Linked DNA regions of Homo sapiens: region 1 is linked to region 2. Evidence: promoter capture Hi-C in human tissues and cell types (Jung and others, 2019). All regions are on one chromosome and are shown on one strand. Each heading gives the region's core, a stretch centred on a gene start or on the middle of the fragment in contact. The rest is flanking DNA. Distances are from core to core; before and after follow the strand shown. Region 1 has its middle 22 kb from the start of EFNA1. Region 2 holds the start of EFNA4 (ephrin A4).

The links. The method cuts DNA at HindIII sites, captures the fragments that hold promoters and counts their contacts. A contact is called where the count stands out against the background at its distance.
Region 1: a contact is called between a fragment that was not itself captured here and the fragment with the promoter of EFNA4 in region 2, in 1 of the 25 tissues and cell types used here (mesendoderm cells).

What each region holds. Positions count from the first base shown.
Region 1 is chr1:155,102,984-155,108,674 of GRCh38, forward strand. No RefSeq gene overlaps it. Among named protein-coding and RNA genes, the nearest start is that of EFNA1, 22 kb to the right of the region's middle. RefSeq lists a silencer at 359-525. The HindIII fragment of the contact is 6,363 bases long and covers 1-4,952 here.
Region 2 is chr1:155,062,490-155,068,400 of GRCh38, forward strand. It overlaps EFNA4 (ephrin A4), which reads left to right and starts at 1,251. Exons shown (of 4, transcript NM_005227.3): 1 at 1,251-1,447; 2 at 4,241-4,527; 3 at 4,883-4,951. The coding sequence starts at 1,335. ADAM15 (ADAM metallopeptidase domain 15) reads left to right here. Exons shown (of 23, transcript NM_207197.3): 23 at 1-286. The coding sequence ends at 13. It overlaps EFNA4-EFNA3 (EFNA4-EFNA3 readthrough), which reads left to right and starts at 1,251. Exons shown (of 5, transcript NM_001407761.1): 1 at 1,251-1,447. The coding sequence starts at 1,335. It overlaps DCST1-AS1 (DCST1 antisense RNA 1), which reads right to left and starts at 1,502. Exons shown (of 4, transcript NR_040773.1): 1 at 1,268-1,502. It also overlaps ADAM15-EFNA4. RefSeq lists silencers at 652-741, 1,122-1,271, 1,562-1,711 and an enhancer at 2,202-2,703. The HindIII fragment of the contact is 5,150 bases long and covers 1-3,789 here.

The DNA of each region.
Region 1 (5,691 bases), core at 521-3,020, 41 kb after region 2:
CCTCCCGAGTAGCTGGGACTACAGGCGCCTGCCACCACGCCAGGCTAATTTTTTGTATTTTTAGTAGAGATGGGGTTTCACCGTGTTAGCCAGGATGGTCTCGATCTCCTGACCTTGTGATCCCCTGCCTCGGCCTCCCAAAGTGCTGGGATTACAGGCGTGAGCCACCGCACCCGGCTTTTTGTTTTTTTCTTGAGATGGAGTCTCGCTCTGTGGCCCAGGCTGGAATGCAGTGGTGCGATCTTGGCTCACTGCAACCTCCACCTCCCGTGTTCAAGCGATTCTCCTTCCTCAGCCTCTAGAGTAGCTGGGACTACAGGCGTGCGCCACCACGCTCGGCTAATTTTTGTATTTTTAGTAGAGGTGGGTTTTCACCATGTTGGCCAGGCTGTTCTCGGAACTCCTGTCTTAAGGCGATCCACTCACCTTAGCCTCCAAAAGTGCTAGGATTACAGGCATGAGCCACCGCGCCCGGCACTAACCTCATTCTTGATTGTTAGATTAGCTGGGGGTAGAATTCTAAGTTGGAAAACATTTTCCCTCAGAAGTTCAAGGTCACTGATTCAGCTATCCCAGTTTCTAGCGCTGCTATTGAGAAATCCAAGTCAAAACAGATTCCCGATCCTGTGTATGAATACTAATCTTTATCACTCATTCTAAATTTTCAGTTCTTAGAAAGTTTCTTGGCCAGGCGCAGTGGCTCACGCCTGTAATGGCAGCACTTTGGGAGGCCAAGGCAGGTGGGTCACCTGAGGTCAGGAGTTCAAGACCAGCCTGGCCAATATGGCAAAACCTCATCTCTACTGAAAATACAAAAATTAGCCAGGTGTGATGGCAGGCGCCTGTAGTCCCAACTACTTGGGAGGCTAAAGCAGGAGAATTGCTTGAACGCAGGAGGCAGAGGTTGCAGTGAGCTGAGATCATGCCACTGCACTCCCGCCTGGGCAACAGAGCAAGACTCCTTATTAAGAAAAGAAAGAGAGAGAGAGAGAGAGGAGAGAGAGAGAGAGAAAGGGAGGGAGGGAGGAGGGAGGAAGGGAGGAAAAGAAAGGAGGAAATGGAGGAAGAAAGCGTTTTGTATTATTTCTTGGATAATTTCCTCCCGTCTCCTCTCTTTTATAGTTGAATGTTCAGTCTCCTGGGCTGATTCTCTAATTTTTCTATTTTTCTCCTTTGTTCCCCAACTCTTTGTCTAATTATTCTGCTTTCTCAGAGATTTCCTCAGACTTGCCATTCCTTTGGTTAATTGTTTTTACTTACCTATATTTAATTTCCGAGTAGTTTAGTTTTTTCGAGACAGGGTCTCACTCTGTGGCCCAGGCTGGAGTGCAGTGGCACAATCTTGGTTCACTGCAACCTCCACCTCCCAGGCTCAAGTTAATTCTCCTCCCTCAGCTTCCTGAGCGGCTGGGATTACAGGCGTGCGCCACCATGCCCAGCTAATTTTTGTATTTTTAGTAGAGAAGGCAGTACACTATGTTGGCCAGGCTGGTCTTGATCTCCAGGCCTCAAGTAATCCACCCATCTCTGCCTCCCAAAGTGCTGGGATTACAGGCATGAGCCACTGAGCCTGGCCTTATTTTATTTTTTAATATAACCTGGTTCTCATTTTATGAATAATCTCTTACCTCTCTAAAAATACTAATTGCCATTTTAAAGGTTTTCTTCTACTCCCTGAATGATTCCTAGTTCCCTTTGATTTCTTTTTCTCTGTGCTTTGGTCTGTTTTTCCCCTTGGTGGCTCTCCATTCACATTTCTGCATGAAGCAGGACAGAGTGCTGTTGGGTGACTGTGTACACCTGGGTTTCGAAGGCACACTCTTCGGAATGTAAGCTCCTCAAGGTGAGGATCTACAGCAGTTTTGTTTACAGATAGAGTCCCAGCACCTAGAATGTTTTCTAGCGCATAGCAGGTGTTCAATAGTAGGTGCAGAAGGGAGTAAGTGTGGAAGGCAAGAATAAAAGGACATCTAGTGGCTTCTCATTTGTTCTAAATGTAGATCTTTGGCCTGGGACCATTCTCTGGAAGTTTTCCAGAAGAGTCCTCTAATCTTATTCCTGGAAGTGTAAACCTGGCTCTCAGGAAACAGTTAGGGGGAAGGGAGCAGCATACAGGCTGCCATTTTTATGTATCTGCTCCTCAAAGCCACTCTGTTTGGTGTTCCTGAGAATCAGCAATGCCCTTCCTGTTTTTTAAGATCCTACTTTGTGCTCAGAACCTTTTTCTGGATATGTTCTCTACAGTATGGAACAAAGTCCCTGCCTTATGAAGCTTATAGTCAGCTGGGGAGAAACAAAATAGAAAAGATTAGATAGATAGATAGATGATAGATAGATAGATAGATAGATAGATAGATAGATAGATAGATAGATAGGATAGGGCCGGGCATGGCGGCTCACACCTGTAATCCCAGCATTTTGGGAGACCAAGGCAGGTGGATCACTTGAGGTCAGGAGTTCAAGACCAGCCTGGTGAATATGGTGAAACCCCCGTCTCTACTAAAAATGCAAACATTAGCCGGGCTTGGTGGCACATGCCTGTAGTCCCAGCTACTCAGGAGGCTGAGGCAGGAGAATCGCTTGAATCTGGGAGGCAGAGGTTGCAGTGAGCCAAGAAAAAAAAAGAGGATAGAGTAAGAGGCGTGTATGTCTGTTTGTCTGCGTGTGTGTGTGTGAGCGCGCTCCATTGTGCATGCTGTAGCCATCAGGAAAGACTCTCACTGGAGGGAACATTTGATTGAGCCAAATTATACATTGGAGGAGAGTTTTGCTTCCTCTGTTTCAAAGTACAAATTCCCTGAGGCTGGAGCATGGCCAGGGAGGTCGAGGAGCATGAAGAAGCCCAGTGTGGCTGGAGAATGGTGTGTAAGGAGGGAAATGGATTGAGAAATGGTGGAGGCGGGCGCCAGGGGATTGGGAGAACACAGTGTGCATCTGAATTTCACTGTAAACATGACTGGGAGCCACTGGAGGGTTTGGCCAGGGGAGCACAGATAAGAGTCACACTTTAAAGGATCTCTTGAGGCCAGGTGTGATGGCTCAACACTTTGTAATTCTGCTAGGAGGACTGCTTGAGGCCAGGAGTTTGAGACCAGTCTGGTAACATAGTGAGAGCTTTTCTCTACAAAAAAAAAAAAAAATTAGCCTGGTGTGGTGGTACGTACCTGTAGTCCTAGCTTCTAGGGAGGCTGAGGTGGGAGCATCACTGGAGCCCAAGAGTTCCAGGTTACAGTGAGCTGTGATTATGCCACTGCACTGTAGCATCAACACAGCAAGACCCTGTCTCTTTAAATTAAATTAAATTAAAGGATCTCTCAACTGTGTGTGAAGAATAGGACTAGGCCAGGCATGCCTGTAATCCCAGCACTTTGGGAGGCCAAGGCAGGGGGATCACTTGAGGTCAGGAGTTTGTGACCAGCCTGGCCAATGTGGTGAAACCCCGTCTCTACTAAAAATACAAAAATTAGGCCGGGTGTGGTGGCTCACACCTGTAATCCCAGCACTTTGGGAGGCCAAGGCGGGTGGATCACCTGAGGTCAGGAGTTCAAGACCACCCTGGCCAACATGGTGAAACCCTGTATCTACTAAAAATACAAAAAAATTAGCTGGGCGTGGTGGTGTGCACCTGTAATTCCAGCTACTTGGGAGGCTGAGGAAGGAGAATTGTATGAACCTGGAAAGCAGAGGTTGCAGTGAGCTGAGATTGTGCCATTGCACTCCAGCCTGGGCAACAAGAGTGAAACTTTGTGTCAAAAAGCAAAACAAAACAAAACAAAACAAAAATTAGGCGGGCATGGTGGCATGCGCCTGTAATCCTAGCTACTCGGGAGGGTGAAGAAGGAGAATTGCTTGAACCTGGGAGGCGGAGGTTGCAGTGAGCCGAGATCACGCCATTGCACTCCAGCCTGGGCAACAGAATGAGACCTTGCCTCTAAAAACAATTTTTTAAAGTAAAAATAAAAAGAAATTAGAATGGGAATAAAAAGAGACAAAAGAAGGCTGAGAGGAAGAGACAGCCAGCCTAACGGGGAGGAAGGCCACGCCCACCCCAGGTGCATCACTAGCTGCACCCAGGCCTGCTTGTCACAGCCACTTCTTTCTCTCCCGGGAACTGAATGGGCTTGACCATCCTGCATTTGTCTAACTTTGAAGCCAAGCAAGGAAGTAACATTAATATGACAAGTGAGGTCTGAACAACAGAAGGAGCTGCATTTCCATTCGGTGGCCATAAACCTATCCTGCCCCCAACCCCAGGAGTGGGGGATCTTCATGCCCAGGTCCTCTGTGTCCAGGTGAAGCACATCCACGGGGATCAGGTATCAGAAAGGGCTGCTTAATTACGCTGAACATCCCCTCCAAAGAGGACTACAGCTGCACGCAGCTGATTCCCAAACTTGAACCAAAAAATCTTACAGGAATATGGATGTCTTCAGTCCCAACCAGCCCCTGCCCTGTGTCAAACATCACGTGCATGCCACATCACACATCACACCATGTCACAAGCCATATCAAGGAGAACTTTGCTCAGGGGCTGGTGTCACAATACTTCAGGCAGCAATGCTGGAGTTATCCACACACAAAAGCAAACAGTGAGCCCTCTAGAAATTTCTGGAAGTTTAGAAACATTCCTATTCTTGTCTGAAAACCCATGTATTTGCCATAATGCGGTTTAGGACAGATCACAATCCCGAGATTCCCCAAATCAATTCTGATGCTGGTGTTGCTGCTTTGGAACATCACTCTCTACAGCCATAAACCCAAGCAGATGCCACTGTGTGCCAGGCACTGGCAGAGGCCTTTGGGTGAGTCTCACTCACTGCCCATCAGGAGCTGCAGTGTGGGTTTTGGAGTCCAGTCCTGAAGGCTTGAGCCTGAAGCGCAATGCCACTGTGTGCCAGCTGGGCGGCACTGACCCTCCAGTGCTCCCAAGGTGATGCTCCTTCCAGCCTTGGAGGGTTAATGTGACAGGTTGTATAAAGCTCCCACGTGTCTGGTATATTGTAGATGCTGGACAAGTAGTCGTAGTTGTTATTACTAATAAGTAAAAATGTGTTGCTTCCTGGGTGTCAGCAAAGTGTCAAAGTCACGAAAGGCTACAGGAGTTCAGAGGGTGGAGCCATCACCAAGCTGTCCTTCCTGGAGGACGTGGAACTTAGCATAGTGTTGCCAGATAAACTACAGAACTCCCAGTTGAATTTGAATTTCAGGTAAACAATGAATTTTTTCTTAGCACATCTCCCAAATATTGTATTGGACATACTTAATACTAAAAAACTATTCGTTGTTTATCGGCAATTCAAATTTAACTGGGTATCCCATATTTTCATTTGCGAAGCCAGCCTAAATCTAAAGAAAGGGTGGCGTAGATGGGCTGCGGGGAGAGGTTGGAGGGGAGTCTGCCAGGCTGAGTGGGAGAGCTAACATGCCTGTGCACTTACATCTGCCAGGTGCTGTACCGGGCAGTTTACAAGTGTCACAAATCCCTGTGAGGTATTTATTATTCTTTTCACTTTACAGACGAGGGAACTGAGACTCAAGACCATTGCTGGTTACTATTTAAACCCTAGGTCTGCCTGGTCCCTAAGCACCTGTTTCTTCCCATGTACCACATCCTGGGGGCAACAGGGAAGCAAAGCAAAAGGGCATGAATGCCCACCTTCATGTTAGAGCTCAGCAGGCACCTGCCTCAGT
Region 2 (5,911 bases), core at 1-2,500:
GCTCTACCTCTGACCTCTCCGGAGGTTCCGCTGCCTCCAAGCCGGACTTAGGGCTTCAAGAGGCGGGCGTGCCCTCTGGAGTCCCCTACCATGACTGAAGGCGCCAGAGACTGGCGGTGTCTTAAGACTCCGGGCACCGCCACGCGCTGTCAAGCAACACTCTGCGGACCTGCCGGCGTAGTTGCAGCGGGGGCTTGGGGAGGGGCTGGGGGTTGGACGGGATTGAGGAAGGTCCGCACAGCCTGTCTCTGCTCAGTTGCAATAAACGTGACATCTTGGGAGCGTTCCCCAGAGTTTGTCTGCTTCTAGAACCCGGGTCGCTCCTGCTGCGGTTCCAGGTTTGGCCGCCAGAAGACGCTGCCGCCTCAGACGAGGGCGGGCTGTGTGGGGCGGGAGTACCAGAAAGGGTCGGCGTGTGTCCCCGGGATGCTCGCAGCTTCCCTCTGCCCAGACTGGGGTGGCTTTCGGCGCAATCTGTCAAGCTGTTGGACCTGCCGTCCCCACTCTGACCATTGGCTGGGAAAAGTGGATCTGGCTGATGCTCCCAGAGCCCAGGAGCCAGGGCGGAGCGGGGCGGCGGCTGCTCCCACGATCCCAAGGCCGCGCACCTGCCTCCTCCCCCTCCGCCGCCGCCACCTGAGGGATCGGGAACAAAGGTGCTTTGTACAGGCCGCAACCACCTCATTACTTCGTCTTAGGGACTGGGGCCGCGTGGGCCCCCAGCCCGGAACGAAGGTGTGGAGCGGCAAGGGACAGACGCCAATCCTAAAGTGAGCATCTAGCGCGCCACCTAAGGCTCTTTAGGGAAGGTGGTCCCAGAGCTGTGTTGTCCCTTCCGCTTGCACTGTCCCTAGATGTGCAAAGAAAACGGGGCAGTGCATGAAGGTGGTTGGACAGGCTTCATGGATCCTCGCCCGCGCCTCACTTTCCCCTATCTGGGCAAAGGTTATGTACCCTTATTTAAAATCTTCCAAACTTCTAATAAGGCAGTCTACCCTGCACTAAAGCAGACACGAAAGAGATGACCTCCCTAAAAATACTGCTGTTGGAATACGTCCTTCCTTCCCGCCCCCTCGCAGTGCGGTGCAGCCTCAGTGGAAGCTTTGGCGAACCTGGCGCGCGCTGCGGTGCACAGAGGGTTAACTGGAGTTGGCGCTGGGTGGAGAGGAGGAGACGCGCTCCCATTGGCGGAAAGTTATTCAGGGGCGGGGTCAGTGAATCTCCGTACCCCACTCCCCTTTCCGCAACTTCCCTCTTCACTTTGTACCTTTCTCTCCTCGACTGTGAAGCGGGCCGGGACCTGCCAGGCCAGACCAAACCGGACCTCGGGGGCGATGCGGCTGCTGCCCCTGCTGCGGACTGTCCTCTGGGCCGCGTTCCTCGGCTCCCCTCTGCGCGGGGGCTCCAGCCTCCGCCACGTAGTCTACTGGAACTCCAGTAACCCCAGGTAGCCGGGCCGAACCGGGCGAGCGCACAGCCAAGTCTGCGCGCTCCCGGGCTTTGCGCGCGCCCGCCACCCGCTCTTTGCGCGGCGCCGCCTGAGCCTGGCCGCGCGCCGGGGCTCCTTTGTTTGAGCCGGCGGGGGAGGGGGGAGGGGCGAGGGGCGAGGCGCGCCCTGGGTCTCCCCACAGCCCGCATGTGTTGGGGGGCAGGCAGAAGACCCCAGCCCCAAGGGTTGTCTAGGGGGTCTTGGAGCATGGAGCTGGGGGGGCCTTTGCCCGCACTCCGGGCTCCGCCCCCCTCGCTGCTCTCCTGGCGATCCCCAGCCTCCCGCAGGCTGGAGCTGTGGCTGACGAACTTGAGAGCGAGGGAGGGGGCTTTACTCTTATGAAAGAGCGTGGGTTACTCTCCTGCCCGCTGGGTCTCACCTCTGGCTCTCACTCTGTCTCCTGATCTCATTTGCTATCTCTGCTTTCATCTCTGTCTTTATTGGTCCTTCTGTTTCTTTCCAGTGTCAGCCCTGCCCTTCTAGCCGAATCACCTCTGGGCAAGTCTCGTGACCTTCCTAACCTCATTTATCTCACCTGTATAATGGGCTAATAATACCTAGTACCCTGGGAAGTCTGGCAGGGTAAGTGAGGTCATGTATGTGAAAGAGGCTCAGGCTGTACAGATATAAACTATTATTTCTTTCTCTCTCCTGAGCTGCCTGCCTTTGAACCTTAGTATATTTTACTGTTTCCATCCCCCTCCCCAAGTCTCCCTGCCTCTCCTATTTCCTATCTGTTTTTCTTTCTGATTTTCTACTTGAGACAATCTGTGACTATTCATTTCTTCACTCACTAACATTTATTTATTAAACACATACTGTGTGTGCCCGGCCCTGTGCTAGGTTGCAGGGGATTAACTATATAGATGAGAAGATCAAGACCCTGCCCTCTGGGATTCCACAGACTCTCTGGAGAACAGGCGCAGGCAGGAGAGCCTGCATAAAGACAGGTCATTACAATACCAATAACAAGTGATAAGAGCTTTTGTTGTCCTTGGACTCTGAATTCTCTATCTCTGTCACAGACCAAAGCTTCTGAATCACTTGGAGGACCTGTTAAAAATTCAGGTTTCTCACCCCCCAATCTTAAGGTTTCTGGCTCATTCATTCAATCCACAAATATTTATTGAACACTGTCCTGTGCTGGGCACTTTTCCAGGCACGGGGGATGCAGTAGAACAAAACTTACCAAGGCCCTGTCCTTGCTCAGCTTGCGTTCTAGTAAGTCTGGGCTGGCTGAGCCCAGGAATCTTCATTTCTAATCAGAACTGATACAGGTCGTCCTTGGACCACCCACTGGAGGCTTTTCCTAAGTCATGCTTCGCTGTGTTTGTGGTATGGGGGGTGGTTCATGCAGCATTCAGTACTGTGGGGAGCAGCCCCTTCCAGCCCTTCCCACCTGTGCTGGCTTCCCCAGGCAGCTCCCAAGAGGTGGGGAAGGGAGTCCTGAGAAGACTGAAGACTGGGTAGTATGTGGACTCCCCCCATGCCTGGCACTTGCTCCTCCTGGCCAAAAAAGGGAGGCACCTAGCACCCACTCCCTCATTCTTTTTTTTTTTTTTTTTTTAATTTTTAGAATTTAGAGACAGGGTCTTGCTCTGTCACCCAGGCTGTAGTGCGGTGGCATAATAGCTCACTACAGGAACTTGCGGACTCTAAGGATCCTCCCGCCTCAGCCTCCCAAGTAGCTGGGACTACAGGAGTGCACCACCACTCATGGCCTTTATTTATTTATTTATTTATTTATTTATTTATTTATTTATTTATTTTTTGAGATGGAGTCTCGCTCTGTCTCCCAGGCTGGAGTGCAGTGGCGCAATCTCGGCTCACTGCAAGCTCCGCCTCCCGGGTTCACGCCATTCTCCTGCCTCAACCTCCCAAGTAGCTGGGACTACAGGTGCCCGCCACCACGCCCGGCTAGTTTTCTTTTTATATTCTTAGTAGAGACGGGGTTTCACCGTGTTAGCCAGGATGGTCTTGATCTCCTGACCTCATGATCCGCCCGCCTCAGCCTCCCAAAGTGCTGGGATTACAAGCGTGAGCCACCGCGCCCAGCCTATTTATTTATTTATGGTAGAGACAGTCTCACCATGTTGCCCAGGCTGGTCTTGAACTCCTGGCCTCAAGCGATCCTCCCACCTCGGCCTCCCAAAGTGCTGGGATTCAGATGTGAGCCACCACACCTGGCCTCCCTCATTCTTTTTTTACCGTGACATTCTTTTCACCCTTGGGTTGAAGTCAGTCTAAAGGACAGTGTTCCTCACTTTATATCTGTTTGAGGAGACCTTTCCCAACCCCTGTTTCCACCTCTGTGTCTGCAGCTGCACTGTGTGCAACTGTACCTCCTGCCTCTCTGCCCAGCTTCTTCACAGCATCCATCCACCTGACATTGATCAAGCCTGGTGCTATACCACATTGAGTGTTGGGCACTGGAGCTAGAGAGGTGTGTGGCAGCTCCAGCCTGTAGGACAGGGTGTGGTGACCCTCCTTCTCACATCTAAGCTGTGTGGTTATGGGCACTGCAGGTCTTAGCCTCTCGGAACCTGTGAATCGATCATCTCATCCATTTCTTGCACTCTCTTTGTCTCTCAAGAGTTGTCAGTCTGGGAACCTCGGGCCTTCCTGAGCTGCTCCATCGCACATGGGTGGAGGAGAGGCTGGCAGGGGCCTCTGAGAAGGGGTGTCTCTGGCATCCATGGCCATGGCGTGGTGCCCTCCACTCCTCAGCCCACCCCTGCGTTATGCCTGCAGGTTGCTTCGAGGAGACGCCGTGGTGGAGCTGGGCCTCAACGATTACCTAGACATTGTCTGCCCCCACTACGAAGGCCCAGGGCCCCCTGAGGGCCCCGAGACGTTTGCTTTGTACATGGTGGACTGGCCAGGCTATGAGTCCTGCCAGGCAGAGGGCCCCCGGGCCTACAAGCGCTGGGTGTGCTCCCTGCCCTTTGGCCATGTTCAATTCTCAGAGAAGATTCAGCGCTTCACACCCTTCTCCCTCGGCTTTGAGTTCTTACCTGGAGAGACTTACTACTACATCTGTGAGTGGCCAAGGGCACACTGGACACCTCTTGTGTACCAGAAGGGTAGGGAGGGGGAAGGAGAGGCCTGGAAGGAGGAGGGGGCTGGGTCTCTAATGTACATCGGGTTGAGGTATGGGCTGAACTCAGGACTGAGGAGGGAAATGTCTAGAAAGGAGAAAGTAGGAGGAGCTAGGAAAGGGGGCCAGGGAGATGAGAGGACTGGATGGGGCCTGATACATGGGTGTGGCCCCAAAGTAAGGAAACGCTTTCCAGGGACCTGGAGAGAAGAAAACCTGGGAGGGTCTGAAACAGTCTGAGGCATACAAAGGGGTGACTCCCTGTGCTAACTTTTTCCCACTTTCCCACTACCCAGCGGTGCCCACTCCAGAGAGTTCTGGCCAGTGCTTGAGGCTCCAGGTGTCTGTCTGCTGCAAGGAGAGGAGTAAGTGGGTTGGGAGCATGGACCCTACTGGCTAATGTGGGGCCTTGGGAAGGAGGGAAGGAGTGAGAAGAATCTAGGAGGATCAGACTCCAGGGGTCCTGGTGAAGCTTCAAGCTGTGGTCTCTTCTCCCCATTTAGCCTTGAGGGAGCTTCTACTGCACCATCCTCTCCCCACTTCTGTTTTGTTTTGTTTTGGTTTTAGACGGAGTCTCGCTCTGTTGCCCAGGCTGGAGTGCAGTGGCTCGATCTCAGCTCACTGCAAGCTCCGCCTCTCTGGTTCACGCCATTCTCCTGCCTCAGCCTCCGGAGTAGCTGGGACTACAGGCACCCGCCACCACACCCGGCTAATTTTTTGTATTTTTAGTAGAGATGGGGTTTCACCGTGTTAGCCAGGATGGTCTCGATCTCCTGACCTTGTGATCTGCCCACCTCAGCCTCCCAAAGTGCTGAGATTACAGGCATGAGCCACCACCCCCAGCTCCCCCACTTCTTTTTTAAGAGACAGGGTCTTGCTGTGTTGCCCAGGCTGGAATGCAGTGGCACGATCATACCTCTCTGCAGCCTCAAACTCCTGGGTTCAAGCGATTCTCCTGCCTTAGCTTCCCGAGTAGCTGGGATTACAGGCATGTGCCACCACAACTCACAACTGGCTAAATTACTTTTTATTTTTTGTAGAGATGGGATCTCAGGCTGGCCTTGAACTCCTGGCCTGTGTTGCCCAGGCTGGTCTTGAACTCCTGACCTCAAGAGATCCTCCTGCCTCCCAAAGCACTGGAATTACAGGCGTGAGCCACCATGTCTTGTGTGGCCTCACTGCACACTTTTTTTTTTTTTTTGAGACAGAGTCTCGCTCTCGCTCTGTCGCCCAGGGCTGGAGTACAGTGGTGCGATCTCAGCTTACTTCAACCTCACCCTCCTGGGTGCAAGCAATTCTCCTGCCTCAGTATTCCGAGTAGCTAG